Regions from separate parts of the Homo sapiens genome. Here region 2 is linked to region 1. The links are contacts of gene promoters, found by promoter capture Hi-C in human tissues and cell types (Jung and others, 2019). All regions are on one chromosome and are shown on one strand. The core of a region is centred on a gene start or on the middle of the fragment in contact, and the rest is flanking DNA. Distances in the headings are between cores, read along the strand shown. Region 1 holds the start of MAP6D1 (MAP6 domain containing 1). Region 2 overlaps YEATS2 (YEATS domain containing 2).

Region 1 (2,762 bases), core at 155-2,654:
CACCCTACCTTGTAGGATACCTGTAGGGAAAATTCCTAGTAGTGAAATAGCTGCATCAAAGGAAAAGTAGTGCTTTTAATAGTCCCACATTAGAAACACCCTAAATAGTCAATGGTAAGGAAGTAGATAAATAAAACTTGAAGATATAAAGGCATATCCATAGGATAAAATACTGCACGTTTATTAAAATTCATGTTGCAGAACATGTAGTAACACGGACAGACTTCTACAACTGGTGAAAAAAGTGTACAGTAAGAATCTAACCACGTAAAAATATATCAGTGCATATGCACCAAATGCACATTACGGAGTAGAAAGAACTCGTCTGGGGAGGGATCAAGGAGATACGTATTTTGTTGTAATTTCTGTACTTTCCCATTTTTCTACAGTATGAATTACTTTTGTGGTAAGAGGAAAAAAGGGAGAAAGCCCTCGGCTGTCCAGGAGCAGAGCTGGGCTGGGAGGTGGGGAGGGCCCGCGGACCCGTTCTCCCTGAAAGCCCCTGTCACAGTGGGACTCTGAAGGGCTCACCCACACGGGACCCTGCGCTCGGTCCTCACCACCAACGCCCGCACACTAGGCAGTGACCGGAGAGAGCTGGGGGACATGGCCTGCGCGCACCCCTCGCACGGCTAGGCCCGGCGGTGGGAGTTAAAGGGAGGCCGGTTCCAACTCGGCTGAAGGCAGGCCATTCTGACGGCTGCCCCCAGGAGGGCGGCTGCGAGGGCAGCGGTGCGCTCCCGGCACGGGGGTGCTCGAGCACTGAGTCCGGGCATGGAGCAGCGAAGGCGCCGCCTGCAGTGCCCACGGACCAAACGGGGGTGACCTCTGAGGCCGCCGGCAGCTCCGAGGTCGCGTGGGATCCGGGCTCCAGGCGCCTCCGCTCTGCCGCCCACCCCATCCCTCTGGCTCCGGGCCTCCGCGTCCTCCCACCACAGGGTGGGGACTCGTTGCGGTCCCTACCCAGCCCATACCTGTACGACGTGGTCACTGCTGCAGCCGCGTCCGCGTCGCCGATGGGCAGCACGTAGACCCCGCGGGCGCCGGGCGCAGGTGGCGCGGAGGACTGCGCGGAGGATTTGCCCCTGCGGCCGCCCGCCCCCGGTCCGCGCCCCGGCGGCGGATCCTTGGGCCCGGCGGGCGTGGTCCACAAGCCGAAGTCCCGCTGGTACTGAGTGAGCGGCACGTCCCGGCCGGAATCCCGGGCGCCCGCGGGAGGCTGGCCCCTGCGCGAGGCGGCGCCGCCCGTGCCCGGCTCCTCGCTGTCGAGGTCCGAGTAGCCGTGCAGAGTGAGCGGCACCGCCACGTCGGAGCGGTCCAGCTGGTTCCAGCGCCGCGCCAGGCAGCACAGGCGGCTGATACAGGGCCACGCCATGCCAGCCCCGGCGCCCGCCGCCCCGCTCCCGGCGCGCGGCGCTCCCGGCCGCGCCTCCTGCGCCCAGCGTCCCCGCCCCCGCGGCCCGCCCCGCGCCGCCGCAGCACCGCCCCCCGGCACGAGGGTGGGCGTCCCGGGAGGGGGCGCACTCGGCGGCAGCCCCACTTGGCCGGGGCCGGCTGCGCACGGCTGGAGCTGGAGGGAGCGCGGATGGGGGAAAGGCTGCACCGTCGCCAGGGGGCACCGGAAACCGCCTGCATTCATTTACAAGTGTCCATCTCGAAGAATGCCTCAGAATTGAATCCAAAGTTCCCTCAGTGTCATCTTATAAATGGCCCCGGCTTCGCAGAGGCCAAGGGCCCGATGGTCGCAGCTGGGAGCAGTCCGCCAGCCGGGAGGTTCTCCATGTGGCCTCGGGACGCCCAGCGACTGCTGCATTTGTGCCAGGCTGCACCGCATGGACTCCGCGGGCACAGGGGCAGGTGCAGCAATGAGGGTGTCAGAGAAGACTCGGGGCCCTGCTTCCCGGAGAACACGTGTTTCAGTCAGCCTGTGAGTCGCCGCCTATTTGCCTTTAGGATGCTAGTCTACATTTGTGACAACCAATCCACTTTTCATTAGAATTGGCATTAGCCACCAATCGACCTTTCCCTGGGTTCTGAAATTCCTAATTTTAAAGCATGGCCATTTGCAAAAGCTTTAGTTTGATAAAGCGGCCACAGAACTGGCCACAAGGCTATCAAGTTCCTTTCCTCCTGTGCATGCATGGCTGTTTTCAGGCAGAGCTGTTGAGGGATCCTCCAGCGTAAAGGCAGGTCTGTTCAATGCAGGACACCGTCTCAAACAACTCCCTGACCACCCACAAACGCTTTTCTGAATATTTGACACATGCTCTCGGTATACACTGCAGACCAATTACTAATAACACTACTGAGACAGCATTAATTACCCAGAGCTCCATTTCAAGGTTGTACTTGGAAGGTATCCAGTCTGCGCCTGGGAGGGGACTGCAGCACATCCCTGGCCAGTCAGAAAACAGATTCATCTCCCAAAACATTGCCTGTCTTAGCTTGAAGTTGTAGCAAAGTGACATGACGGCTGCCTAGAAGTGGCAGCAGGTCAGCTGAGCAGGCCAGGCCATGTCCCAGCAGGCAGCAGGCGAGGCGCCAGGTGTAGAGGGAGATCCTGGAAAATGACACACAGGGGCCGGGTCAGAGTGAACTCTTTGTGGACTGTCCGCCACGGCCCTGGGTTAGCCAGCCTGGCAGATGGCGCTTGGGACTAAAATTCTCCATCTCGCAGGAAAAGAGAGCAGCTCTCTTTTTATTACTTCATTGATCAAACAACAGTCAAAGAGCAGTTGCTATGTGCTAGGAATAATTCTGGG
Region 2 (2,762 bases), core at 160-2,659, 57 kb before region 1:
CCACCACCATGCCTAGCTAATTTTTTTGTATTTTTAGTAGAGACAGGGTTTCACTATGTTGGCCACACTGGTCTCAAACTTCTGACCTTGTGATCTGCCCGCCTTGGCCTCCTGAAGTGCTAGGATTACAGGTGTGAGCCATTGTGCCCGGCCATTTTTTTTATTTTTTAATAGAGACGGGGTTTTACCATGTTCATCACGCTGGTCTCAAACTCCTGACCTCTAATGATCCGCCCACCTCGGCCTCCCAAAGTGCTGGGATTACAGGCATGAGCCACCACGCCCGGCAGGATACCAGGTTTTACTGGGTTCTTGGAGAAATTACGTGTCATATCCTGAAAACTCTGAAGCACTTGGCACAAGAAAGGAAAAGCAAGTCAGGTGCATGTAATGTGGGGAAAGAAATTGAAGTAGGTCTAAAAATGTGTGTATTGTTTTCCCTAAGTTATTTGCTTTCTTTGTTTAGGAACATAAAAGTAGATTCTGTGTAATTTAACTTGTGAAATAGGTTATTTGATATGTTTGGGAGGTTTGAAGACTGCTATCTTAGTTAAGAGAAAAGTTCAACTACTGCAACAGAGAAATCTGAACACCAGAACTTTAAGTAAGTTTATTTCTCATACAGTCATCGAGAATCTAGATCCCTGGCTTTCCTTTTTTTGCTCTGACATTCTCAAAATTTGGCTTTCGGCTTGTGGACTAAGAAAACACTTCATCTCATACCTCCACGTTCACGCTTCTTGCCAAGAGGAAGGGAGCAGGGGGAGGGAGAGCTGAGGGCAGACAGAGCCCGAAAGTCGCTCTCACTTCTGCACACATCCCGTTAGCCAGAAAGCAAATGGCCACGCCTAGGTCTGGGAGGGCTGGGAAATAGAGTTGTGATTCCATGTGGCCATTGCCCCAGCTGAAAACTGGGGGCTCTGTTACTATGAGAGGAGAAGGAAATAATAGATATTGGGGTTCAACTAGCAGTTTCTGCCACACTCCCAAAAAGTTTTGCTACATTAAGAAGGGTTTTTTTTTTCTTTCATAAATATACAGAAAAGTTCTTGATCAGTAAGAAGGGTTTCCGTATTTCCACATCACTGGGAGGATGACCCTGCCCTGCTCTGTGGCTACAGAAACTCTACAGGTCCCCTGCAGAATGAAGTTCATGCAGTTAGAACACAGATGAAGGCCAGGTGCCTGTAATCTCAGCACTTTGGGAGGCCGAGACAGGTAGATCGCCTGAGGTCGGGAGTTCAAGATCAGCCTGACCAGCATGGAGAAACCCCGTCTCTACTAAAAATACAAAATTAGCCAGGTGTGGTGGCGTGTGCCCATAATCCCAGCTACTCAGGAGGCAAAGGCAGGAGAATTGCTTGAACCCAGGAGGCGGAGGTTGCGGTGAGCTGAGATCGTGCCACCGCACTCCAGCCTGGGCAACAAGAGCAAAACTCCGTCTCAAAAAACAACAACAAAACAGAGATGTAGATGTGGGTAATAAGGGGTATTTCAACCAAACCAGGAGAGCCGGGGGTGATTTCTTGTCTTCATTCTAGGTTAACTTGCTTTTTAAAATTGGTTCTTTTATTCTGTTTCTTCTTTTCTTCTCTCCTTAAACATACAGAAAAGTAGGGAGAAGAGTGTGATGAATCCCACATGCCTATTACCCAGTTTTAACAATTACCAGCATTTTACTCATCTTAATTTATCTCCCTGGAATATTTTAAAGTAGCAGGCGGATCCCCATGTTGTATAATTCACTCAAGATTAATTTGTTTCACCTGCTGAATCCAGAGGTTAAGATCAAGGTCTCTGCCTTGGCCGAATGCGGAAGACAGCCACAAATGTCTGTCCTTTGGCTGTCCTTTGCTGGTCTCCACATCCCCTTGTGGATTATTATTCTTCAGTTGAAGTGTTGTGATGAGCAGCAACAGCTGTCATGTTAGCTAGGCATCCTATATACTTTTTCTCATTTTGCTTCATGATTCGGAGGGTAAATGTTACCCATATTTTATAGATGAGGGGATTGATGGTAAAACTCAAGAGAGGTTAAATAACTTACCTAGCTACTAACTAAAAATAACTAACCTGGAAAACCAGATCTGTCTGCTTACCGAAACCTGCACTGTTTCCTCTTTGTGACGCTATAGTTTATAATATTTGATTAAGGGACTGTTTTCATTTTATTTATTTATTGTTTAGACAGAGTCTTGCTCTGTCGCCAGGCTAGAGTGCAGTGGCACGATCTCAGCTCACTGCAACCTCCGACTCCCAGGTTCAAGCGATTCTGCTGCCTCAGCCTCCCGAGTAGCTGGGGTGCCCACCACCACGCCCAGCTCATTCCTTGTAATTTTAGTAGAGATGAGGTTTCACCATGTTGGCCAGGACAGTCTCAATCTCTTGACCTTGTGATCCGCCCGCCTCAGCCTCCTAAAGTGCTGGGATTACAGGCGCGAGCCACCATACCCAGCCAAGGGACTGTTTTCTTTATATCAGCTATATTATCCAACTGCATGGTAAATGTATTTTACTGAACTCACAGTCTTTGAACAGAAACCGTGTATGGTATAGTAATATTTTAATTTAAAACTTCTGGCCGGGTGCGGTGGCTCACACCTGTAATCCCAGCACTTTGGGAGGCCGAGGCGGGCGGATCACGAGGTCAGGAGATCAAGACCGTCCTGGCTAACACGGTGAAACCCCGTTTCTACTAAAAATACAAAAAATTAGCTGGGCGTGGTGGCGCCTGTAGTCCCAGCTACTCGGGAGACTGAGGC

The links. Contacts are between HindIII fragments. The study calls those that stand out against the background at their distance.
Region 2: a contact is called between a fragment that was not itself captured here and the fragment with the promoter of MAP6D1 in region 1, in 1 of the 25 tissues and cell types used here (pancreas).

What each region holds. Positions count from the first base shown.
Region 1 is chr3:183,824,173-183,826,934 of GRCh38, forward strand. It overlaps MAP6D1 (MAP6 domain containing 1), which reads right to left and starts at 1,405. Exons shown (of 3, transcript NM_024871.4): 1 at 975-1,405. The coding sequence starts at 1,375. It also overlaps a transcript of PARL not described here. RefSeq lists silencers at 983-1,112, 1,133-1,202, 1,263-1,612. The HindIII fragment of the contact is 8,198 bases long and covers 1-2,762 here.
Region 2 is chr3:183,767,528-183,770,289 of GRCh38, forward strand. The region is part of intron 15 of YEATS2 (YEATS domain containing 2); the gene reads left to right. Among named protein-coding and RNA genes, the nearest start is that of YEATS2-AS1, 42 kb to the right of the region's middle. The HindIII fragment of the contact is 8,730 bases long and covers 1-2,762 here.